5 separate regions of the Homo sapiens genome follow, and regions 1, 2, 3 and 5 are each linked to region 4. The links are contacts of gene promoters, found by promoter capture Hi-C in blood cells and fetal thymus (Javierre and others, 2016). All regions are on one chromosome and are shown on one strand. The core of a region is centred on a gene start or on the middle of the fragment in contact, and the rest is flanking DNA. Distances in the headings are between cores, read along the strand shown. Region 1 has its middle 2.8 kb from the start of LINC02862. Region 2 overlaps MREG (melanoregulin). Region 3 has its middle 11 kb from the start of MREG. Region 4 holds the start of IKZF2 (IKAROS family zinc finger 2). Region 5 has its middle 84 kb from the start of MREG.

Evidence for each region. Contacts are between HindIII fragments. The CHiCAGO score rates a contact against its expected background, and 5 or more counts as called.
Region 1: a contact is called between a fragment that was not itself captured here and the fragment with the promoter of IKZF2 in region 4, in 1 of 17 cell types (total B cells). The highest score is 6.4, in total B cells.
Region 2: a contact is called between a fragment that was not itself captured here and the fragment with the promoter of IKZF2 in region 4, in 1 of 17 cell types (total B cells). The highest score is 6.7, in total B cells.
Region 3: a fragment that was not itself captured here is called in contact with the fragment with the promoter of IKZF2 in region 4 in 1 of 17 cell types (fetal thymus); the score reaches 12.4 in fetal thymus.
Region 5: a contact is called between a fragment that was not itself captured here and the fragment with the promoter of IKZF2 in region 4, in 1 of 17 cell types (total B cells). The highest score is 5.3, in total B cells.

The regions. Positions count from the first base shown.
Region 1 is chr2:215,269,675-215,274,650 of GRCh38, forward strand. No RefSeq gene overlaps it. Among named protein-coding and RNA genes, the nearest start is that of LINC02862, 2.8 kb to the right of the region's middle. RefSeq lists an enhancer at 1,691-2,239. The HindIII fragment of the contact is 745 bases long and covers 1,576-2,320 here.
Region 2 is chr2:215,996,471-216,001,657 of GRCh38, forward strand. All of the region lies in intron 1 of MREG (melanoregulin), which reads right to left. Among named protein-coding and RNA genes, the nearest start is that of MREG, 14 kb to the right of the region's middle. The HindIII fragment of the contact is 2,347 bases long and covers 2,765-5,111 here.
Region 3 is chr2:216,021,604-216,026,617 of GRCh38, forward strand. It overlaps a transcript of MREG not described here. Among named protein-coding and RNA genes, the nearest start is that of MREG, 11 kb to the left of the region's middle. The HindIII fragment of the contact is 2,027 bases long and covers 1,706-3,732 here.
Region 4 is chr2:213,147,526-213,152,861 of GRCh38, forward strand. IKZF2 (IKAROS family zinc finger 2) reads right to left here and starts at 4,087. Exons shown (of 9, transcript NM_001387220.1): 1 at 3,888-4,087; 2 at 2,619-2,722; 3 at 1,071-1,119; 4 at 183-287. The coding sequence starts at 1,104. RefSeq lists enhancers at 1-10, 1,712-1,811 and silencers at 4,178-4,237, 4,318-4,677. The HindIII fragment of the contact is 7,158 bases long and covers 1-5,336 here.
Region 5 is chr2:215,926,932-215,932,013 of GRCh38, forward strand. No RefSeq gene overlaps it. Among named protein-coding and RNA genes, the nearest start is that of MREG, 84 kb to the right of the region's middle. RefSeq lists an enhancer at 680-1,206. The HindIII fragment of the contact is 6,678 bases long and covers 1-5,082 here.

The sequences.
Region 1 (4,976 bases), core at 698-3,197, 2.1 Mb after region 4:
GTCTTAAATGAAAAGCCTTTCTCTATGTTAACTCTTAAATCATGTTATCTATTTTTATTAATAAAGATATAAATTGACCAGCAGTTGATGTCTTAAATATTTAGCAATGACTAGATAAGAAGCAAGGATCCGCTGTAGTGTACTTCATTTATTTCAGGCTTGCTTTAAATTTGTTTTATGAGTCTGATAACATTAAAATAACTTGAACACCAACGTTTTAAAACATATTAAAAGCTCGATGAAGAAATCTGTAAACAGAGATAAATAAATATGTGAAGATCTTGTAAGCGGCTCCTCTGGCATTTATAGTCCTATACTCAAAAAAAAAAAGACACTCTTTGCAGTTGTGCCAGTGCCCTCTAGCGGTCAGTGTGGTGTCTACAATTTTTTTAAGTCATTCCCGGCCTTCAAAACGTGCTGACCACCTCCCATTCTACCAGCCAGCCAAGAGGAAAAAAAAAAAAAAATCAGCCAACCAATAGAATAATCAATTTTCTATAATGCTAGAGACTTAGAAAAAAACACGCAGAATAAAATAAAGAAAAATCATACATCATGGTTAGAAATACAGCTTTGTACATTAATGGAATCTCAACATTTTGAAGAAAGAAGATTCCATCTCGTGGTTCTTTTCTTTTATGGTCAAAGACGGACTTGAGAATTTTAGAAAAGCTGTGGACTTTCTTCTCAGAAAAAAAAAAAAATGTGCCACCTGTAATCTCAGCACTTTGGGAGGCTGAGGCACGAGGTGAGGAGTTTGAGACCAGCCTGACCAACATGGCGAAACCCCGTCTCTACTAAAAAATACAAAAATTAGCCGGGCATAGTGGTGCATGCCTGTAATCCCACCTACTCAGGAGGCTGAGGCAGGAGAATCGCTTGAACCCAGGAGGCAGAGGTTGCAGTGAGCTGAGATCGCACCACTGCACTCCAGCCTGGGCAACAAAGTGAGACTCCATCTCAAAAAAAAGTGCATGTACCTATAATTTCAGGGGTTCATGTAACACCTGAAGGCCTTGCATCCTAAATTAAAGGCTTGGGGTTTTATATACCTCTACACATCCCAGGTTCCATAGGTTAAAAATCCTGTCTGAAATGGTGAGTTTAAAAATCAATTTGGAGAAGGACATGTACAGAATGACTGTATGCAAAATAATACTGTATAGTTTCTATGTATATATAGTAAAAATATGCAAACTATGGAATAGTGAACATTGAATTCATGAGAGTTGTTACCCTTCAGAGCAAGAAAGGGTAATGAGATGGGGAAAAATGAAGGTGGCCTCAGTTATGCTTATACTGCATCATTTATTCAGAAACTATTGAAGCATATACGGCATATTATTTTAATAAAGCTTGGTGGCAGATGTATAATGAATTTTCATTATTTTATTTTCCATTCTTATCTATAAAGTTGGTATATACCCCAAAATTAAAAGGTTTCATTCAAAAACCTGAAATTATTATAAGATCTAATTCCATTGTCATGTAAAAAAGGTTATTTTTCCAAAACATCCAAATGTAAGTTCATGTTCTGAGAAACATATTTAATTCTCTCTTGTATAAAATCACCCAAGCTTATTTTCAAATACAAGCTAAAATGTTAATATTAAAAAGCAAACCATTGTTCTCTTCACAGAGTCCTCAAGTAGATAAGCCTTTATTTTTATGGCCATAATTTGATTTCTTGATAGGGAAAGAAGGAGAAAATTCTTCTGAAACTAATGTTATATTGGAACAAAATTTATTATCGATCCATATTCATTCTACTACCAGATATAATGAAAGTTTGGATAAGGTATTATTCTTTCTGGGGATTTTATGTATAGCAAAGTCAGTGTGAAGCCGACTATGTCATTGCTTGAGAGTCTGAACCTAATCGCCACTTAATTGATTCATGCTTGTAGCTGCACTGCTGCATAGCATCCCAGAGTGCTCAGATGCTACCTGTCAGGTGCATCCCATCACAATGCAAAGCAGCAGGTCTTGTGCCTGCCTTGATTTAAATGGAATGCTGGAGGAATGAAGCAGCCCAGGCAATCTGGAAGGCTGGTAGGGAAGAGGATCAGCTTCTGTTTCACCTCCCCATTGATAAAACTGACAGATCCCAGGCAGGCCTGAGGAGGTAAATTATGACCATAACATTAGCTAACTGTGGGGTAATATACACTGCTGGCCTATGGGGTCAGATCAAAGCTCCAGTCCTCCCTGTCCTTGACACCTAAGGAGAAGCAACATTAATTTCTGAGGATCTTTATTGGGCCACAGTGTTGAGGCAGAGCGTGGAACTTTTAATGTCATGGTAAGAAAAGGAGGCAGAAGCTTATTCTCTAACTATGCTCTCCAGTTGGATTAGGGATTTTAGAGACTCTGTCATTTTGGACTTGTCTTATTAAAATGATGTCTCCGCCAGCTGCCGCTCTAGCAATTAAGACAGGCCTGCTTTCCACCTAGTAATGAACTCCTCCAACGGCCTTTTCTCACCAACCACCCACACCCCACTTCCTATTGCCACAGGAAGGCCTGGCCTGGGGTAGAGTGTCTAGGTTTTGGGCGTAGGGAACCATCCCACCTATATTCTATTTTTCTTTGGATTTCTCTCTCTCTCTTTTTTTTTTTTTTTTTTTTTTGCCACTAGAGTGAGATCTGGAGGAACTTCATTTAGGCCTCTGACAAAAGACACATAGGAATGTTTTCAGCCCTATGTAGTCCAGCACAATTCGCCAGGTCTAGGAATTCCAAAAAGGATTTTGGCACCAAACCCAAACAGTAATAAACAGTGTGCACAGGCCAGGCCTCACCATCAAGGCATGGATTGTGTCTCTTATGGGGAATCTAGTAGACATGGTTGTGACTGTAAGTGGTTTTTTAGGGATTTGGTGATCTTGAGTCCCGGCCTAATATCAACTCAGAAATGACTGGCATATACCCTTGGAACAGTGTAGAACTGGGGGAAAGATAATAGGCAAAATGAAGATGGAGACATCTTGTATGAATCACCATCTCATGGCGTGGAACTATCAACTTGGCTTTTCCAAATACATGATGTTCCTGAAACCTCTGAATTACATCTCTGAATATTTGGATATTTAAGCTATTTTGATGCCTTGCTTACATTTAAGCTACCTTCCAAAGCAAATTCTATCCATCCTAATTGCTTTCAAACCAATCTTGCCTTAAAAATATTCCTACAAATCAACTGGTGTTGAATATTGATATAAGTAAATACTCTCCTTTAGACTAGAAAACCAGCATGTTTCATCACCAAATTTTTAAAAAGCAATTAATCTTCTCTTACCCATATTGAATAAGAATTCACTTTAGAATTTCCTTCTCATGAGGCAGAGCTTGACATTTAACAATTCTCATGTTTCATTTTCAGAAGTAAATGAGTATGCTGCAGTTAACCTGAGAGTTGATTCATAGTTAGGAATACAGGGAGTAACGTGGGGGAAATACCTCCTTTCTTTAGCTCAGGGGAACACACTGAGTGCCTGTAAAGTTACCCACAGTGCTATCCATATCGACTAGATTGTAGTCAAGTAAGGGCATACGATCAAGGTGCCATCAGGACCTAAGCAATATTCATGATCTCTGACAATATGGATCATGCACTGAAATTCTACAATTGTCCTTAGAGAAAATCAAAAGTTTATAGCACCACTTTTACCATAGAACATTTTTTCTTTTGGAATGGGGACAAAAAAAAAAAAGAAAAAAAAAGATTCATGGAAAGGATTTGGTCTCTGAATGCAGGTGAACCTGAATTTGAATCCTAGTGTTTGTAAGCCCTGACTATGTAATTTTGCTCATGGCCTGGTGCCTAGCAGGTGCTCAACAAGTCTTTGTTTTCTCTGAAACAGATCTGTATTTGTATCCTATTTTTTTTTTTTTTTTGAGGTGGAGTCTCACTCTGTTGCCCAGGCTGGAGTGCAATGGCATGGTCTTGGCTCATTGCAACCTCTGCCTGCCTGGTTCAAGGGATTCTCCTGCCTCAGCCCCCCAAGTAGCTGGGATTACAGGTGTCCGCCACCACTCCTGGCTTTTTTTTAATTTTATACTTAGTAGAAACAGGGTTTTACCATGTTGGCCGGGCTGGTCTCGAACTCGTGACCTCAGGTGATCTGCCTGCCTCGGTCTCCCAAAGTGCTGGGATTACAGGTGTGAGCCACCGCACCTGGCCTATATTCAGCTCCTATTGTGGCTGTAACAAATTACCAAAAGCTTCAAGGCTTAAAACAACACAGATTTATTACATTTCTGAAGGTCAGAAGTCCTTCAGCGTCTTGAGCAAGGCTGTGTTTCCTCTGGGCACTCCAGAGGAGAATGTTTCCTTGCCACGGCATGGCCCCACTACTATAGCATTTTGGACGCTATAAAAAGAAAAATCTCCTAGGCCAAATTGCCTCTACATTTCATTGTAGACACAATTAACTAAATTTATTCTTCTACAGCAGTGATTTTCAAACTTTTTGGTCTCGAAACCCCTTTATACTCTTAAAAAATATTACAGACTCCGAACGGCTGTAGTTTACGCAGGCTCTATCTGTCAATATTTATCATATTTGAAATTAAGATTGGTATTACAAGAATACACGAAGAGCACAGAAGCACACATTCCATTAAGCATCGGAACAATGATATCATTACACGTTATGGAGCCACTGTAAACCCCATTCATGAAAGAATGGGAGTGAAAAAAGCAAATAACATTAGTACTACTATGAAAAGATCTTTTACCTTGCAGACCTCCTGAAATGGTTGTAGGAGTCTCTGGGCCACATTTTAAGAACTGTTGTTCAGCTGGTGTGAAAGAAGGCGCAACAGCTAAAGAAATGCCAATTCTAAATCTCTCAAAGCAATCATCATGCTGACTATGCCCAGAACAGCACAGCAGCCAGTGTGGCCTTCTGCTGATAGGAAAGACCGAGCAGTCTGACTCTATCCTTTCCCTAAAGACTCTGGCTGTGGGCAGC
Region 2 (5,187 bases), core at 2,688-5,187, 2.8 Mb after region 4:
GTATAAAAAAAGGAAAGATTGGGGTTTTATAATATACATAAAATGTTATATGTCATATGCATGCAACATACAATATCAATTAAAACTTATACTATGTAATATATAAATATATTGTCAAAAAGGTCTGAATTGTCTTTAATAATTAAGCATAACACAACAGAGCAGTAAAAACAAACCAAAAATATAAATAAATCACTTTAAAAAGAACAGAGAACAGACGTACCTGAGCAGAGGTAATTACTACAGTTAAATATGAAATTCAGCACTGAGTACCCCAGAAGCTAAGACAACAAAGGAAATTCAATTCTTTTTTTTTTTGAGACAGAGTCTCGCTTCATCACCCAGCATCACCCAGGCTGGAGTGCAGTGGCACGACCTCAGCTCACTACAGCCTCCACCTCTCAGGTTCAAGTGATTCTCCTGCCTCAGCCTACCGAGTACCTGGGATTACAGGCGCCTGCCACCACGCCCGGATAATTCTTTTATTTTTCATAAAGACAGGGTTTTGCCATGTTGGTCAGGCTGGTCTTGAACTCTTGGCCTCAAGTGATCTGTCCACCTTGGCCTCCCGAAGTGCTGGGATTATAGGTGTGAGCCACCGCGCCCAGCCAGGAATAGAATTCTTGTGTGATTAAAAGAAGAAAACAATTAACATGAAGGGATGAATGTTTGACTGGCTCTGAGTTCAAGGAAGCATAGTAAACTTGGAGTACAATGATATATAATAGCTATCAAATTCCTTATGCCAGGAAAATTAAGTAATAAACATGCGTACCCAAAGACTTTCAATAAACAAGGCAGAATGTTGAGTGAGAATTTCAGTAGTCCCATTCTGTACATTTGTTTTATGATTTATGCCTTATAAGGTGGTACCTGGGTGTGGACTTACAGAGAAGATTAGTGACAGAGCATCACATCTGGGGCATGCCTGCACACAGCCCCAGTTAACTTCTGTAACCCCCAGTTGACTTCTGTGGGAAGGACTGGTAGGGTCATACAGAAGCTATTCACTTCATCTAGTAATATGTATAAAGCACTGACTACATGCTAATCACAGGGCTCAATAAAATTGTGAGCAAAACAGACATCATCCCTGTCCTTGGACCTCACTAGAGTCTAGCATGGGAAACACATTAATGAATGATCACATGACTATAAAATAAAAATTGTGATAAGTGCCATTAAGTGGGAGCTCAGGAGGCCATGAGAACATATGCAAGCTGCTAAGAGAAAATCCTTATGAAGGCAGGCGTCAGGTAGGTGTCATGAAGAAGAGGTGCTGGAGCTTTAAGTGGAAAAACAAGAACAGAGTTGCAGGCAGAGGAAACAGCATCTTCAAAGGCCTGGGGTGGAAGGAAACAGGAAATGTTAAGATGTCAATATGGGATGCTCAGAAGTTGGCACTAAGGAAATTTTGCAACAGGAAGCAGAGTGCCAGTCCCCAGATTGGGGTTCAGCAGCAGGAACCCACCCAGCTAGGGAGGGGCTCCAGCCCTAGAGTGATGAGGTACAGGTCAGACTGCCAATCACCGCCTCAAATTTTGGAAGACAGGGCCGGGCACGGTGGCTCACGCCTGTGATCCCAACACTTTGGGAGGCTGAGGCAGGTGGATCACCTGAAGTCAGGAGTTCAAGACCAGCATGGCCAACATGGCAAAACCCCATCTCTACTAAAAATACAAAAATTAGCCAGGTGTGGTGATACATGCCTGTAATCCCAGCTACTCGGGAGGCTGAGGCAGGAAAATCGCTTGAACCGGGGAGGCAGAGGTTGCAGTGAGCTGAGATCGCGCCATTGTACTCCAGTCTGGGCGACAAGAGCAAAACTCCATCTCACAAAAAAAAAAAAAAATAATAATAATAATAATAATAATAATTGGGACAACAACCAGGGCCCACTTACAAAAACTAGGGCAAAAGGTGGGACAGAATCTTGGAACCAAGGCTAGCAGGAGACCAGCTACCTGAATCAGCATGGGGTTTAGAGACTGAATATTGAACAGTGCTCCTGAAATCCTTGTGGCTGCAGGTCAGAAGTTTAGGGTCTGGGACTGAACAAAGTACCTGGCCCTATGGGGAAAGGTGCAGATGATGGGAAATCAGACACAGCTCAGGCACACTATGCTCAGAACCACGCTGTTTTTACTGATTAATACCACAAAAGCTAGAACACAGGCAGCCCCACAGCCTGACTCTTCCTAAGAATGATGAACCAGTGAAAGAGGAGGAAAATGATGCCTTTGGGCCCTGCCCATGTGAACTTTTATGAGCATGTCAAATTCATTCATTTCATTCATTCCATTGTTTGTTTATTCAACAAATGTGGAATAAATGCCTGCTGTATACTGAGTACCGGGCTGGGTGCCATGGGGACATGAAGATAAATAGGACATTGTCTCTGCCCTTAACATAACTATAATGCAATGAGATCAGTACATTTTTTTAAAAAAAGTCTACACAGATTGTTGTAGGAACAAACAGGAAGAAGTGATACGTTATGTATGATGAGAAGGAAGTTCAAGAACTAACCAGACCTGAGGACTGAACAGGCTTCCACCAGGAAGAGAAACAAGGGCAGAGTTATTCCTTGTAGAAGGATCAGCTCAAGCCAAAGCAGTATATGGAGGCTTCAGGAGCCCACGGGGTTGGGGAATCGAAGTATTCCTGCATGACTGCAGCACGTGGTGTGCGGAGCAAGGAAAATGGAGAGACATGAAGAAGAAAAGGTAACGTGGGGTCAGACTAAAAGTAGTGCTGGTGTCCAAGCTTCATTCTGTGAACTGCAACATTATCAACAGGATTTTGAGCCCTGTCAGGTCTGGATTTTAGAGAAATAACTCTGGGTGAAGGAAGAACAAGAAGATGGCTTAGGAGGGTGTCACAATCAACTGTCACACGGGAGTAGGTGTAATTTTCAAGCCATGCTCTTTGAGGTCCTGGTGTCAGGGGGCCTTGGGACCACAGTGGGGCAGAAGTAGAGAAAGAGATGGGCAGGGCTTCTCTGGAAGAGATAGAAAGAAGCCCATGAACCAACCACAACCAGAGCAGCTTCTCCATTCAAATAGTCTTTGTTAGAGCTAGAAGGAAGATTGTTTGAGGTACAGGAAAAATGGGGTTCTACTGCTAAACAAATACATAATTTTGAACATTCTGAAATTATGATTGAGATAAAAGTAAGCGAGGTTGAGAGCGAGGGAAATAGCAGTGAGAGTGGAAATGAGGACCGATTCCAGCAGCATCAGAGAGCGGGTGACAGCAGCCCATGGTGGGAGGCACAGAGGTACCAGCGAAGGTGACGCCTTCAACTGTAACACATGGGGCAGAAGCCACGGCTGACATGATGAGCCTGCAGGATGTTCAGGGAGATGTCAGGGATCTGGGTTTAGGAGCAAGGACAGGGTAGAGATCTAGATGTGGGAGCAATACGCAGCATTTCATGGCATCACAGAAGCAGGTCAGAGAATCAGAAGAATGGTCTTACGGGATTTGGAGAAGGAAGAGAATAGGTGAGTCAAGAAAGAGAGATCAGGCAGGACAAACAGCAGGTGGACACCGGAGAAGTGTCGATAACATGAAAGATGCTGACTCCAATTTCTTTCTGCAGCCAATGATATGCAACCACTGCATAATATATTCAGGGCTTGAGCCAAGGGCTCCTGCATTCCACCCCTCACGTTACACAAGCATCTAAGGTAAGAAGGATGGGTGGCATTGGCCTACTTTGCAGATAGGGACAAGAATACTGCAGTGCTTGACTTCTTCTGGGCCAGACAGCCAGCTGACAGTCCCCCCAACATGAGTTCCTGGGTGGGGATCTCGGAGGAGCCACTGTTATATAACTCAACATCCAAATGCTGTGACAGGGATGCACTCACAGTGAAGTAGCTCAGATAATAACTACCTGTGTGGATGCTCCCTGTACAAACCAGCAGGTTCCCCTGTGGCTTGTCCCCAGGATGCACTCTCCTTGAGTCACCCAGACCTGGCACAGAGCTTCCACCAAGAGCTGCAACCATGGCTTCCAACATCACAATAACTGCACCTCTGGAGCAATGAAACCCTGGTACTTTTCCTGGCATTGGTCTTCCATCTTCCCCCAGATGTGTTTCATTTCTATGTCTTGTCTCCTCAACAGGTGGGTCAGTTCCTCTAGGGCAGGGGTTGTATCCAGTATTTCTTCTACATTTCTACATTTCTTCCCCACATCACCTAGCAGGGTCCTAGGACACAGCAGTTGCCTTAAAAGTACTTGTTGAACGCAACAAACTGTGCTGTGATCCCAATCTGCTGAAGGAAATCCCAGACATAACTCATGGTTACCGCCTTTTAAAAATTTCCCTAAAGCAGGAGCTTTAGAAAGGAGCCAGTATGTACCTGAAAAATCAGTAAAAATAACGTTAGACCATGAATAATCTAGCCACCTTTTACTTTACTAAGCCACAATTTATTTTCCTATTTTAAAATGACGATCTCAGCTGCCTCCCTGGCCAATTCCCAACCCTCTCACAACCTCTCTCTCTGTCTCTCTGTCCCTCCTCTCTCTAGCTGTCTCTGTCTCTCTTTCCTGTCTCTTGCTCTCTCTCACTATCACTTCTTTTCCTCTTTATTTCTCCTCTCCTCTCTCTAGCTGTCTCTGCATCTCTGTCTTTCCTCTCTTTTTCTCGCTTATCACATCCATCCACACACATACATGCATGACTTCAGCCAGCATAAAACACCAGCCTCTCGTCCTTAATCCACAAGCCCAAGTAAAGCTCTATAGGAAGGTCAACCCCAGCCTGTTTAGAAGTGCCCATGTCTCCAGAAGGTGAGTGCCTCCTGGGTTCTCACCATATCTAGCCCTGCCCTAATTAGAAGCAGTATTCCCCTAACAAGCCTCCAACTCTGCCTAGCCACTGATATTCAGGGGATGATGTAAATCAGGAAAGAGAACCAACCGCTGTGCCCCTGGACCGGCAATGCCTCCCAGCAGTGGTATTCTCTGCGAGCTCCTGGGCCCTCCCCAGCAGGATCTGACCTGCTCGTGGCTACGAAGCAGCCTCCTCCACTCTGCCCCTCTGCCTCTCCAGACCCAGACCTGGCTCCTGCTTTGTTCTTATTCAGTAATTGCAAGCTTTCTTTGGGGCATAGGAAAGGTGGGGTGCCACTGTTAAATAAATAAACAAAGAACTTTTTTCAAAATATTAG
Region 3 (5,014 bases), core at 1,469-3,968, 2.9 Mb after region 4:
TCCAGAGGCTTGGGAATTCTGAGGCACGTCAAATTTATGAACCACTGGCAGGGTTGTTTAGAGTATGGTCTTTGGCATAACAGTGCTTCCCTGTGGCTGCTGTCAGGATTGGGTGAAATAACACAGAAAGCCCTTAGTACAATTTCATGGGAAATGGGAAGCACTGCGTAAACGTTAGCTGCAATTATTGTTAAGTATTCATACTTTAGTCAGATCCGACCCCATCACCTTCCATTGCCAACTGTGACCATCTGAAAGGATTCAACTCAACAAGTATTTATTATCAACTGTGTAAGCATGGCACTGAGCTCAACCTCTTGTGGAATGCAAAGATGAAAAACAAACAGTACTTGGCCGGCTGTGGTGCCTCAGGCCTATACTCCCAACACATTGGGAGGCTGAGGCAGGTGGATCACCTGAGGTCAGGAGTTCAAGGCCAGCCTGGCCAACATGGTGAAACTCCGTCTCTGCTAAAAAGACAAAAATTAGAAAAATTAGCTGGGTGTGGTGGCTGGCTGGCACCTGTAATCCCAACTACTTGGGAGGCTGAGACAGGAGAATCACTTGAACTTGGGAGGTGGAGGTTGCAGTGAGCTGAGATAGTGCCACTGTGTTCCAGCCTGGGTGACAAGAGCAAAACTCTGTCTCAAAAAATAATAATAATAACAGTACTCATCCTCAGAGTACTATCCAGAGCCAAAAATAGAAAATTATGGAACTCAAATGTTCTGTATTCATCTATGCCTCGAGTCACCCATCCTTCAGTTCCTACCATGTGCTCTTCCCTACCTCACCCCCATATTTCCCATGATTAACTATGCTGCAATCTCTAAGTAGATTCTTATAGCTAACTATGTTGTCATCTCTAGTCTCCCATAGTTAATTATACTGCTACGTCTAACAATATTCCCACTTTAATTATATCTCCATCTCTAACTATACTCCTATATTGAACTCTGTTGTCACAGCTAATTCTCCTGCCATAACAAACACTTTCCAGATGCCCAGAACAGTCTCAATTCTCAGCCCCAGAGATGAGATTTGGAATTCAACCTCTTCCTACCTCCGGAAGACAAGCCCCCTACTATTCCAAGTTTTCTGTGTTCTCCAAAGTCTCTCCATATTATACCTAACCAAAATTAAACATAAGCCTAGACCCAGCTATCATCGGTGTGCTTCCTAATTCAATTAAACTCTAAGAAGCAGAAGCAGAGTTTCTAAGAAGCATTTATTAAGCACTTGCTATATGCAAGGTGACTCGAAGTTGCAAAATAGGAGAAAATATGCATCAAAAACTGTAGTAGGAGAAAACCTGAGCATCATTCACATTTGCTATGAAAGGCGACCGGAGGCTTGCCTCAACTTTAAGCCCAGATCCTACCCATCTGAGTGTTAAAGATAACCGAATTTATGCCTTTAAATTCGTGTTTTTAGTTCACCATTCCTTTATATGGTTTCTTTCTCCACAACACTCAAGAGATACATCGACAGGCCAGAACCCTGCAACTCTCCCGGACAAGTTCTACCAAAGTAAAGACAGCAGGTGGACCTCCCCGACAAAGGTTATATACAAACCTTAGACTTCCCCACAAAGGTTATATACAAACCTTCCTATAATCCTCTGTGCTGCCACCTCCTGGCATCCAATTGTAAATTCACTGCAGTCTCTTTGGAGATGGGGCTAAGGATCTCAAATAGGTTCTAAAGCTTTCTTTTACTCAACAGATGGAAAGCTGCTGTAGCCACAATGCCTGTATGAACCTAGAGCTTAAAGGGACATAGTAATATTTAAGTGGGAGATTTAAACTAGCTGTAAACTAAACTCTAAACCTGTTAGGGCACTGCTAAATTGAGCAATAAGTAAATCCTCTCTTTTCTTGGCTACCATGTGCCAAATAGCTTTGATTATTGTATTACTATTTCATTTCATCTTATTAAGCATTGGTATTTGATTTATTAGCCTGAAAACCATGGAAAGTGTATAGGCCACTAGATATATTTCTTAAATAATATAAGGGAAGCAATTTAAATGAAGCATTAAAACTTCTTGTTTTTACATTTTATTTCTCTGAGTGTGTGTGTGTGTTAGAGTCTCACTCTGTTGCCCAGGCTGGAGTGCAGTGGCACAACCTTGTCTCACTGCAACCTCTGCCTCCAGGGTTGAAGCGATTCTCCTGCCCCAGCCTCCTGAGTAGCTGGGATTACAGGCACCCACGACCATGCCCAGTTAATTTTTATACATTTAGTAGAGACACGGTTTCACCATGTTGGCCAGGCTGGTCTCAAACTCCTGACCTGAAGTGATCTGCCCATCTTGGCCTGCCAAAGTGCTGGGATTACAGGTGTGAGCCACCACACCTGGCCAGCCTCTCCAACTGATAAATGCTTAATATTAAATATTTTGCTTGACCAAAGTAGAGGGCCCTTTCAAGTATATGCCATGAGTACCCCTTTGAATCACTTTGTGGAGCTGAAACTGGATGCCTCTAAGCTCCACTCTCCCTTGCCATGCCGAGCCTTTCAGGGTCTTCTCTCCTTGAGCTCTTTTCAATTTAGAAAGGTCTTGTCACTTCAGGTAGGGAATTTAAACTGGGCCACCCCTCCCTATCACTCACATCTTTCCTATGTACCCCATAAGAAGACCAGGTGCTGGCCAGGCACGGTAGCTCAGACTTGTAATCCCAGCACTTTGGGAGACTGAGGCAGGCAGATCACCTGAAGTCAGAAGTTCAAGACCAGCCTGGTCAACATGGCAAAATCCCATCTCAACTAAAAATACAAAAATTAGCCAGGCATAGATCACACCACTGCACTCCAACCTGGGTGACAGAGTGAGACTCAGTCTCAAAAAAAAAAAAGGACGCCCCGTGCCCTCTCTTTTGTCCCTAAGCCAAATGACTTATCAAAGTACTCCTCAGTCCAAGGGAGAGCAGAACCTGTCCAATTGTTGTTAAACAAATACGGTTTCTTGCCTATAGAAAATATATTGGCTGGGTGTGGTGGCTCATGCCTATAATCCCAGCATTTTGGGAGGCCGAGGCGGGTGGATCACCTGAGGTTAGGAGTTCAAGACCAGGTTGGCCAACATGGTGAAACCCCATCTCTACTAAAAATTCAAAAGAAAAAAAAATCAGCTGGGCATGGTGGCTCACCCCTGTAATCCCAACTACTTGGGAGGCCGAGGCAGAAGAATTGCTTGAACCAGGGAGGCAGAAGTTGCAGTAAGCCGAGATCACGCCATTGCACTCCAGCCTGGGCGACGGAGCAAGACTCTGTCTCAAAAAAAAAAAAGGAAGGGAAAGGAAGGGAAAGGAAAAAAAAAAGGAACGGAAAGGAAGGGAAAGGAAGGGAAAGGAAAGGAAAGGAAAGGAAAAAGGAAAAGGAAAAGGAAAGGAAAAGGAAAGGAAAGGAAGAAAGAAAGAAAATGTATTATAAAGATGAACTGGCATAACAGTTTGTATCCCTTTCATGATTCCTGGCACTGTGACATCCCTGAAAAGCATGAGAATGCATGAAAATGCACATCTCATTTTAATGTTTATGTTTTCTCTATGGCAACATAGGAGAATGGTTTTGTAGTAATGCAAAACTCATTAATAAAGGCAAAATCCTTAGCTGCCACCCCACTGATACCCAGAAGAGGTTGATTTAAAGATCTCGACAGGACAAAAATTGTAAAACTAAGAAAGAAGACCTCTACTACCCACAGACAGCCCAGTAGCTCAAAAGCAAAGCTTCTCAACTTAGAGGAGGTGCAGACCTTCCTTCCTTCTAACTGGCAGAAAATCTGGTACTGCCAATTAGCTTCCCAGGAAAGCTAACTCTGAGATGGAATTTAGCATACAGGAGATTTATTATGAGTGTGCATAGAACCAACACCTGTGGAAAAGAAGGGCACAAAGGAACTGATTGGGCCTCAGTCAACCCTATGGGGAGTTCTAAAGACAGAATGAAAATTCAGAGCTGCTCTGAGTCAGTCAGTAAGCGAGAACTGGCCCTTTCTGTCCCCTCCATGACAATCAGTCTTTGGATGAGGCCTACCTGGGAAAGGAACATGGCCTTAGCCGAGGCAGCCCTCTTCAGCAGAGGCTGTCCCAGAAATGGGCTGACAGCTAGGGCCGTGTCGGGCAACACTTCCAGCAGCTCCTTCCTTCCGGAGGGAGGATCTAGAGCCCGTGAATCTCAGCAGCCACTGCTCGGCAATCCCTGCACCGAAATCCATCCGTGTGGGCAGTCACACAAGCTCAGGATTTCCTTCCTCTCAAAATGCCAGGAATTCTTTTATCAGATTTCTTTAACATAAGATGAAGTCCTCCAGGCATGAACACTTAAGCCTTCAGCCCTTTGGAGGGAACATTCTAGAAATAAGGTTCAGGAAATTGTCCACAAGTAGAAGCAGTCTCACCCACATAAACATGATGAAAACTCTTCCCTAGAAGTACTGACATATGCTACAATGTGGATGACCCTCAAAAACATTATGATAAGTGAAAAAAGCCAGACACAAAAGGTCACACATTATATGATTCAATATACATTAAATATCCATAGAGAGACATAACTCCAGCTGATGGCTGCTGGGGACAGGGGTGGGGGACAGAATATGAAGAACAACTGCTTAATGTATATAAAGTTTCTTTCTGGGATGATGAAAACGTTTTGAAACTGGACAAAGATGATGATTACACAACATTGTGAATGTGCTGAATGCCACTGGATCATTCATTTTAAAATGGTTACTTCCATTGTGTTTATTTATTTATTTATTTATTTATTTTTGGAGACAGTGTCTCACTCTGTTGCCCAGGCTGGAGTGCAGTGGCACCATCTAGGCTCATTGCAACCTTCCCAGGGTCCAGCGATCCTCCCGTCTCAGCTTCCTGAGTAGCTGTGACTACAGGCATGCGCCACCATGCCCAGCTAATTTTTTTATTTTTTGTAGACATGGGGTTTCACCATGTTGCCCAGGCTGGTCTTGAACTCCTGAGCTCCAGCAATCCACCCGCCTCTGCCT
Region 4 (5,336 bases), core at 2,837-5,336:
AAGCAGGCTCATGTTTTATAATACTAGAATGAACAGGAATAAATCTGTGTTGTTCTTTCTTTAGCAAAATCTATAACAGTAGCTATACCACAATGTGAGAGGACCCCACAGACCTAACAAATTAAAGTCTGTTGCTGGAGAGACACACACACACAAAAAAAAATCATAAAATGAAGACTTACTGCTTGTCATGTGACTTGGTGAGGCATGCTGTCCATTGGGTGTGCTTGAGGTGAGGTCAATTGCCATATTGGAGTGCTCCCTTTCGGGTGAAAGCTCATTGTCACCTGCTTTCACAAAATATAATCTTTTGGTTTCTATTCATTGTCACATAAGATGTAATTACTAACTTTGCTTTATACACGCAATGGCATGCATAGCCTTCAAACTGTAAGGTAATACATTTTTCCCTTAGAAACTATAAGGAAATATCATTTAGAAATATACAGTTGAATGAAATGATGAGAAGCCATAATCAACCCACAATAAAAAAAATTAACAAAACTTTATTATCTCAATACATAAGTTGTTGATTTCTAAAGTATCTTTCAGTTGAAAGAAATAACTTTTCTTTTAACATCTAATTTAATTGTTAAGCACACAGAATTTATAATGAGCATTTTCCAAAATGCTGGCTATCAGAGAGAGGATGGAAAAGACAGGTAGCTAAAGAAATGTCAAGTTAGGAAAGCTAATTCTCTTTCACATAATATGTCTGAAAAATTAGGTTACAGAGAAGTAAATATTTAGTACACACCATATTAATAGACATATATGAAACCTGGCCTATTCTCAACTTACAACAAAGTAAATTATAAAAAGTAGGAAAGTGTTGAACTGCTAGCTACTATTGATTTAAGTACACTACTTAACTTAGTATGTTTCTATATTTCCTTCTTATTTCACTTCAGTGCTGTCATTTTCTCAAACTCATTCAAAGGTGAAATTGTGAACAGAGAGAAAAAAGAGTACAGAATTCTCAATAAAGTTTCATAATCCAGGAATTAAAACACAGGTAATACAAAGGCAACTTTATTACCAATAACAAATCAATGAAAACTAATACTTACACGTTATATAGCCATCAATAGCCTCTGTTTCCATAGTCAAAGTGCAATGCTGCAAAACAAAAGATTATACCCTTAATACAATGATTCCTTTCAGTATCTGCCATTAAATTCTTAACTTATTTGAAGCTCCAAGCAGTTAGTCCATGTTGCTGCTGCCACCTGTGCCCAGAAACATACACAGTGTACTGTATGTGCTCATTTGCAAGTCACTGAACTCTTTCTGCAAATGATCTGATTCCTGCTGGAGATAGGATAGGAAAGATAAGTGTGCTGTGAGATGGGCTAGAGCAAAAAGGGAATGACTCTCTTAATCAAAATTTATTGGGTTTAAGAAAAAATAGGGGGTATAGCTCAAATGTGTCAGCTTTAACTGGGATTTAAGTGTTTTACCATTCACTACTTCCCACAATCACACTGCAGTTTGAGGACTTCCCCAGTATACAGATAGCTCTATTCACAATTGTTGCAAGTTGGTTCATCATGTTCTAATAGGGAGGGGGAGGACAAACAAACATAAGAAAACAAAACAAAACAAAAAACTTAGTGCCCAACGGTGTCTTGAAGATTTCTACAGCAGTTGGCCAACTCCCTGACTTGTATTGACATTTTAACCTACCCCAAGTTCTGTGTAAGCACCTGTTCAATGTAACCTTAATTTCCTGCCAGACCATGCTTGGACACAAATGCCAAGCCTACTTAATACAGTCTGATTTTGAAAATTTCATAAACTTTGGTTGTGCTAGAGAGAATCATTTAAAAAAAAAAAAAACTTTGGGCAATTATTCTCATGCACAAACGCCACACAACAGAACATAATTCTCAGAAACAAAAGTAAACTGTATGAGATGACACCCCCTAGCTTTGATTCACATAATGAAAAGATCGATAATCTAACTGTATTCTGTGGGGAAAAAAGTTTAAGAATTGACAAGTCCTGAGAAGATTTTTACTTTTTTTTCCCCCTTTGGCCTTGGTCCTTTTTGCCTTTAGTTTCAAAACTCTCACTGCACCAGCAGCTAAATTATTCACAATGAGCCATTTCTGTATTGATCGCCAAGTATATTTAGCCCTGGCTCCTGGAATTTCTCCATTACTTACTGGAAAACAGGCAGCTTCACTTCTTGTCTCCAAAACCACTTCCCTTCTCCCTCCCCTCCCCTTCTTCACCACCACACTCCCTTACCCCCCCCCCAAAAAAAAACTTTTATTTCTTTCTTTATGGAATAATCAGATCAAATTCCCAACTCAGTCACTACATAGCACTTAAATTTCAACCTGCTGTACTGTTATCACATTCTTTTAAATTATGATTACATAAGGCTTTAAAGAAAGAGATCCGTAAAGTTTAAAAGAGGAGCAGTTTCTTCGGATATTTTACAAATGAGCTTATCTCTTTAAAAATGTACACATTTAACACACACATATTAAAAAGAAAGAAACGTCAGGGAGAAGCGAAAGAAGGCTGCCCCATCAATGAAATGGTTATTAACCCTCAGAGAAGGAAAGAAGGAAAAAGAAAAAGGAGAAAGAGAAACGAAATGTACATACAAAAGAAATTGTCCTTTGATTAAAAAAGATTCATCACCATTTCCAGCTCTGTCGGGAGATCTCAGCTTCTTCTAACCCCTCAAAGAGGAGGTGACAATGTCGGGCTGAAGATAAACGGAGGGAGAAAGAAAGAAGTTTTTTGTGTTTCCCCCTTCTCTCTTTCCCTCCCTTGCCCCCTCCAAGCCAAGCCCCCTGCAGAGTTCAAGGGGAGGAGGAAGGAAAAGCACTTTACAGGTGGGTCATTCCAAGCCCAAATCCAGCAAACAGATCGGCTGATAAACAAAACCAAGAAATGAGAGAGAAGAACACCCCCCTCCTCCTCCTCCTCCTCCTCGTCCTCCTCCTCCTCCTCCTTCCACCCCTCCCCCTCGTCCCTTAGGGATGGTCTAGTAGGAAAAGTCACTCAGGAATGGCACCACGTACTTTCAGGAAAGAGGAAAAAAAAGAGAGAGAGAGAGGTCAGTCAGTGCTATAGCAATGCGATTAACAAGAGAAAAAACTTGATCCACCGGTTCCTTAAGAATCGACCAAAAGCTAAGACAAGAAAACTGAAAGAAAAGGGGGGGGGGGCGGGTAGAGGGGAGGGACAGTCAGGCAGAACCCAGCTAGGAACCCAGGCCAACTTCACAGGACTGTTTTTGGCCCTTGGCAAAAAAGAAAAAAAATAAATAAATCTTAATTCCATCTCTTTCGCCCATACTAGAACCTGTCAAAGTGATTTAACTGCTGCCTGTTTACATGTGTCATACCAGGGTTTTTGGTTTTTTTTTTTTTTTAATTCCAACAGGATCTGGATATTACCTTCTATCTGGACAGCTTCAATTTATTCCAGCCTACCCAATCTTTCTTCTTGGAATTCAAGTTAAAACAAAGCAAAACAAGTCCAAATTCATGACAGCTATAGAGATGAGAACTGATTAATCGATTAACATCCCAGAAACAGATTACAAGGAGGGGACGATAAATTAAGGCAGAGGACATCATCTTCAACCCGATTCCCTGAGCGTCCTTTACAAAAATCATTACCCTAATCAGAACCACAATCCATCCCTCCCAGAGAAAAATACCTATATTATTATTATTATTACTGGTTAACAGCAACAAGTCATTTGATCACATCACAGTGCAAAACGAGATGCTATATAATTACACTTAACTTTGAAAACACTCCCCCCTTTGCAAATCATACACATATTTATATATAATCTATGAATCAGAAGACAAAACAAGAGCTGTTCTTCACCACGCAAAAGCCAAGCGGAGATTTACCTCAGCAGTGCATGCAGTAAAATAATCCCATCACCCTTTTGTTTGTGTTTACTGTTAATGTGTCCTCTGTCTTTCTTTCTTTCCTGTGCCTAACGTGTGTTTGTGCACTGCAGTTGGTGGTGGAAACTAAGGCAGTGGATCTGTAGCTAAGGGTAATCCTGTTTTTACTTCCTCCATCTTCAGCGAGGAGCAGGGTTAGCCCGGGACAGCTGGTCAAACCCCGAGAAACCGATCCGGTGGAGCCCGAGCACATCTCCCCCGCCGGCCGGGCTCGCGCAGACGCCCGCGGGCGGAGGGCGGGCTGGCGGCGGCTGCGGCGGCGGCGGCGGCGGGCGGCTGGCGGCGGGCAGCGGAGCCCCGGGCGCGGGCGAGCGGACGTGCGTGCGCGCGCGTGCGTGTGTGCGGGGCCCGAGCGCCTGTGCGTGTGTGTATGAGAGCGCGTGTGCGCGCGCGCGCGGGCTGGCGGGCGCGTGTGCGCGTGTCTGCGCGCTAAGCCGCTCGGCGCGCTCGGCAATCGATTACAGGACAAGTGCTGCCCCGGAGGCTCCGCGACGCGCGCACTCCCTCGCGCCCACCCGCGCGCCCGGCCGCGTCGCCCCCAGCCCGTTGGTCCCCGGACTGCGGACCCCGCCCCCGACGGGGGCCAGGTAACCCGCTTCCGAGTGTGCCACGGCGACCCCCATCTCCCCTCCCCGTGTCATAATAAATCTCACGTTTTCTGCCGGCTGGAGGCTTGGAGCGGTGAGGTGACGTTCATTTCGGCCGCGTGAAGTTTTCTTTCAAACTGGGATTGGTGGGGAGGCCGGGGGAAGGGAGCGGGGCGGCGATCTTGGCGCCCTGCGCGGAGTCCGGGAGCCGCGTCCCGGCCGAGTCGGGGAGTGTGCGTGGAGCCTCCCACCTACTGGTCTCCGCCGGCAACTCTGCGGCCCCATTTCGGAAAGCGCACCGCATTGACCGGGACCTGAAGCGGGATAAGAGGGGTCCTGGGGAATAGACTGAGAAAGACATTCATGTCTGAGATGAAGCTCAACTATTACTATTTTGAAAGTGCTTTAACAGTGCAAGTTTAAAAACTAAAGTGTTGACTTGCTTTTTCTCCCCCGGGGCATGTGCCACGTCTTCCAAAGTCAAAGGAACGGATGAGTACAAAAAGTTGCTACCCTTGAAGTGTTACCTATCACTATCAACCACAGCTTGTTTATTTGGAAAGAACTTAAGTGAACCGTCAAGAGAAAAACAAATGCATATTCTTTCTACAAATAGTAGCATTTAGTATCTTTCCTGACCACATTTGCGAAAAGAGGGAATAGAGACTTCTATAATTAAAGGGAAAAGGAAAATGAAAGGAGCTGAAAATAGTGAACTGTGTAGTCTGGATGGCTGAAATTTGAAAACACATGAAATTATCAGGACTGCCAAACGGTGTTCCTGAGAAACCATATCACAGAT
Region 5 (5,082 bases), core at 901-3,400, 2.8 Mb after region 4:
ACCAACTTAAAAAGGACTGGACAATACTTCTACCACTTTCCCTTCTCAGAATTCAGGCCTGTCCTCGGAATGCTACACGGTACAGCCCATTTAAGCTCCTGTATAGACGCTCCTTTTTATTAGGCCCCAGTCTCATTCCAGACACCAGACCAACTTAGACTGTGCCCCCCACCAAAAAAAAAACTTGTCATCCCTACTATTTTCTGTCTAGTCATACTCCTATTCACCGTTCTCAACTACTCATACATGCCCTGCTCTTGTTTACACTGTTTTTCCAAGCCATCACAGCTGATATCTCCTGGTGCTATCCCCAAACTGCCACTCTTAACTCTTGAAGTAAATAAATAATCTTTGCCGGCAGGACTCTGCCGAATCTCCTTAAGCACTCTCTAATCAGATATCCTGAGTTGTCCCAATTCTTAGACCTTTTATACCTGTTTTTCTCCTTCTGTTATTCCATTTAGTTTTTCAATTCATACAAAACCATATCCAGGCCATCACCAATCATTCTATACAACAAATGTTTCTTCTAACGTCCCCACAATATCACCCCTTACCACAAGATCTGCCTTCAGCTTAATCTCTCCCACTCTAGGTTCCCACGCCGCCCCTAATCCCGCTTGAAGCAGCCCTGAGAAACATCGCCCATTCTCCCTCCATACCACCCCCCAAAAATTTTCGCCGCCCCAACACTTCAACACTATTTTGTTTTATTTTTCTTATTAATATAAGAAGGCAGGAATGTCAGGCCTCTGAGCCCAAGCCAAGCCATCGCATCCCCTGTGACTTGCACGTATATACGCCCAGATGGCCTGAAGTAACTGAAGAATCACAAAAGAAGTGAATATGCCCTGCCTCACCTTAACTGATGACATTCCACCACAAAAGAAGTGTAAATGGCCGGTCCTTGCCTTAACTGATGACATTACCTTGTGAAAGTCCTTTTCCTGGCTCATCCTGGCTCAAAAAGAACCCCCACTGAGCACCTTGTGACCCCCACTCCTGCCTGCCAGAGAACAAACCCCCTTTGACTGTAATTTTCCTTTACCTACCCAAATCCTATAAAACGGCCCCACCCTTATCTCCCTTCGCTGACTCTCTTTTCGGACTCAGCCTGCCTGCACCCAGGTGAAATAAACAGCCATGTTGCTCACACAAAGCCTGTTTGGTGGTCTCTTCACACGGACGCGCATGAAACTTGGCATTGCCATTTTACAGATGAAGGCCAGGAAGTTTCAGCAATCTGCCCAAGTTAGGAAGTGGAGAGCTGGAGGTCCCACCCAGGACTGCCTCGTGGATGCAGCTTCTCTTGCCCTCATAGCTTCTCTCTCGTGATACATGTTAGGCTGTCCTACTTCCTCCAGGAAGTCACCCCACGTTCTCGTGAGCCAACAATACCATTCTTCACACATCAACAATGTGAGCCAACTCCCACATAAAATGCCGACCAACAGACCAACTGCAGGGCATTTCATCCCGAAATATGTAGCAGCTGGATACAGAACAGAAAGAGACACGAGGTGGAGACACGAGGGTTCAGGCTGGTTTGTCTACAGTGGAATGGAGTCTCCTAAACTCAATGGCAAAGGTCACAGGATGGTCAGCTGTGAGAAGAGAGCAGGGAATCAAGGGCAGCAGCTTGTTTTGTCCTACAAACACTGTCCTAAAAACACTGCAAAATTCTCATGTTGAAACAAAACTCCTGGATATCTACACAAAAATCTGCACACAAATATTCCTAGCAACATTACTCATAATACCCCAAAAGTGGAAACCACCTCACTATGAACGGAGTGTCTCCAAAATTCATATGTTGAAGTCTTAATCTCCATTGTGATGATATTTGAAGGTGGGGCTTTGGGGAGGTAATTAGGGAGAAGGAGGAGCCTTTGCGAATGGAATTGATGCCGTTAGAAGAAGAGACAGGAGAGAGATCATCTCTCTCTGCCACAGGAGGATCCAGCATAAAGATGGCGTCCTGCAAGAGCTCCCTCACTGAGCACTGAATCAGCCAGCCGCTTGATCACAGACTTCCAGACTCCAGAACTGTGAGAAATAAACGTCTGTTGTTTAAGCCACTCAGGCTGAAGCGAGTGTTGTGGCAGCCAAACAGACTAAGACAAACCCAAATGCCCATTAACTGATAAATGGATGCATAAAATGTTATAATATTGTATGCAATATTATTTCATAAAAATGAAGGAAATTATTCCACAATACAAAGGAATACAATTATGATTCATGCGACAATACGGTTGAATCTTCAAGACATTATACTAAGTGAAAGAAGTCAGGAACAAGGGTCCCATATAACCATAGGTTCCACTTACACAAACGTCCACAACACATAAATCTAGAAACAGAAACTACGTTAGTGGCTGCCTAGGGTTTAGGATGAGGAGGGTAGATGTGAAGAATGAAGGAGGTGTGACTGCAATAGGGTACAGTTTCTTTTAGGGTAATGAAAATATTCTAAAATTGATTGCAACTCTGTGGATATGCTGAAAACCATTGAATTATATACTTAAAATAGGTGAATTGCATAGTATGTGAATTATACCTCAATGAAGCTGTTACCAAAAAAACCCCCACAATATTCTACTTAGAATATTGTGCTTAGAAACAAAATAAGTTCTCCAATTGTTGGGGGTCTGGGGAGGAACTCATGGTGTTTCATCAAAATGATCCAAAATTGATTCTGTTCTGATCTAGCCTCTTCTCCCAGACATCCTTAACTCAGCAAATGGCCCCACACTCTGCCACAGCTAGAAAGCTATGAGTCATCCTTGATTTCTCCTCTTCCTGCACCATCCCCCAAATTCAAATGCATCAGCAACTCCTGTCCATTACCTCTCCAAAATACACCTCACACTTCACCCATTTATGCTCCTCCTCAATGCCACCAACCTAGTCCAAACCATCACCCTCTCTCAATTCTGACACATCTTGTTCCCATTCTTGCCATCCTCTGATCCATTCGCAATGCATGGCAAGTTATTGTTTCACAACATAAGTCAGCTCCTGGCTCTCCAAGGCAGACACCCTTCTCTGGTCGCACAAGGCAGGAACTGAAGATCCACCCTTCCTCGTGCCTCCAGCGCTCTGCTCATCATGACCCCCTAAGCTACTCCAGACATGCTCTGCTCCCTTTCGCCCTCAGCTATGCCAAAGCCTTTATCGCCTCCAGCCCTTTGCACTTGCTGTTCCCTCTGCCTGGGCCCCTCTTCCTTCACATCTTTGCATGACTGACTGGCTGTGACTCATCCTTTAAGGGTCCCAACTCAGACCTCTCTCAGAGAAGAGGCCCCTGACCACCCTGTGCAGAGGGGCCCCACTCAGTTCCACCTTATCTCATCCAGTGTTCCTGTTACAGCACTGCTTGCAAATTGTAGTTACCTTGTTTGTTTGTCTACTCTGTTCTCATCTGCCTTACCCACTAGAAACTGGATCCAATCTTTTCTTTTTATTCAAACACCTTCTATAAATATTTGCTTTTTGTTTTTGTTTTTGTTTGAGACAGGGTCTCACTCTGTTGCCCAAGATGGAGTGCAGTGGCGCGATCACTATGAAAAGATCAGGTCACAGGGATACAAAGACGACCAGGATTTGTAGTTGACCAGGATTTGGTGCTACCCTAAAAGAGGTCTTCTTTTCTGGGGGACAGGGACACAGTAATGTAAACGTGTATTTCAATGCAATATGATAAATGTTCTGAGTACTTTTGCTATTGAAGCACAGAGATAAAGCTCTCTCCAAGTCTGAGTCATATTTGTTCTGGAAGAATCAAGGAATTTTGAAGACAGAAAAATGAAGCAAGGGCTCTCCGGTTTTATTTGCAATGTTCTGTGTTTCCAAATCACTTTTAGTAATCTGCCTTTTGAGAGAGGCATCCCCTTTACCACCCTGCCTAAGAGGAAAATTAATTCGATAATTATTTAAAATTTGGTAGGTTTCAAAGGAATGGGTATTTGGAGCACACTTCACTAGTCTTTCCCCTTTTGTTTTAAAAATTTGCCAAAGTAAAAAGTTGCTTTAGAAAGTAGAAAACCAATAATGACACTAGCAACCTGGAATGCAGTAGAGGCAGCTATCCGGCATATCTCAGATTATAATATTCAAATACATGCCGAAGACAAACACAATTTGGCATGCTACAGAACTAGAGAAACAGGTAGGCCTGAGAGTTACTTGAATTTTTTCTGGGGCAGAAACTCAGAAATCCAAAAATGATCTTATTTACAAGCCTTTAGTCTGAGTTGACCTTTCTTCTTTAAAAGACATCGATGCCCTTTCGTTGTTTCATTTTCTGCCAATTTCCAAATGTTCTCCAAGAAAAAGACAACCTCTGAAATTCACCAAAAAATGAATAAATAAAAACCCTCTAAATCAATCACTAAATGAGGAAAAATAGACAGAACTTCGTTAATTGACTCAGGCTTTTAAAAATTGTCTCTCCTGATGGGGACTGAGGGATGAGATCTTGAAGCTCACAGAACACAGAGTGAGTCAACAGCGGCATCTAGTGTTCAATCAGAATCCTGCAAAGCCCCTCGTTGGAGATGGGAGGATCTGTGTGTTATTGTAAGAGGCAAATCAGTTACATTTATCCACTCGTGGAAATCATTGAGAAGCACTCACCCGAGTGTTTATGGTGCTGCTTCCATAGATGTTCACAGGAGAAGGACGCAGGTTGTCCTAATTCCAGAGAGACGGAACATCACACAGCCTTGGCATGCATCTCACCTGCATCTCAGCCTCATCTCAGCTTCCCCTCAGACTCAAACTCAAAGACAGGACTATGTGCCTGAGAGTCCCTGAAGGGCAGAAGCCCTCTAAGGTGGTTTATCAGCCTTCTCTGGAGTAAACGGAATAGATTGTGTTAATTGTTGGAAATAATCCTGCTTTTGCCTTAACTTTTTTCTGGACACCCTGAACTCTTCAGTGAATAGTGAATTCTGGGGAAACTATTTAATCGGCTACAATCTATAAATAAGGGGTGATTTTGGATCTGTGTATGCCAGTGATTTTCACCATTTTTCCCCAGCAATGAAATGATTTAAGGGAAAAACATGAGATATTTGG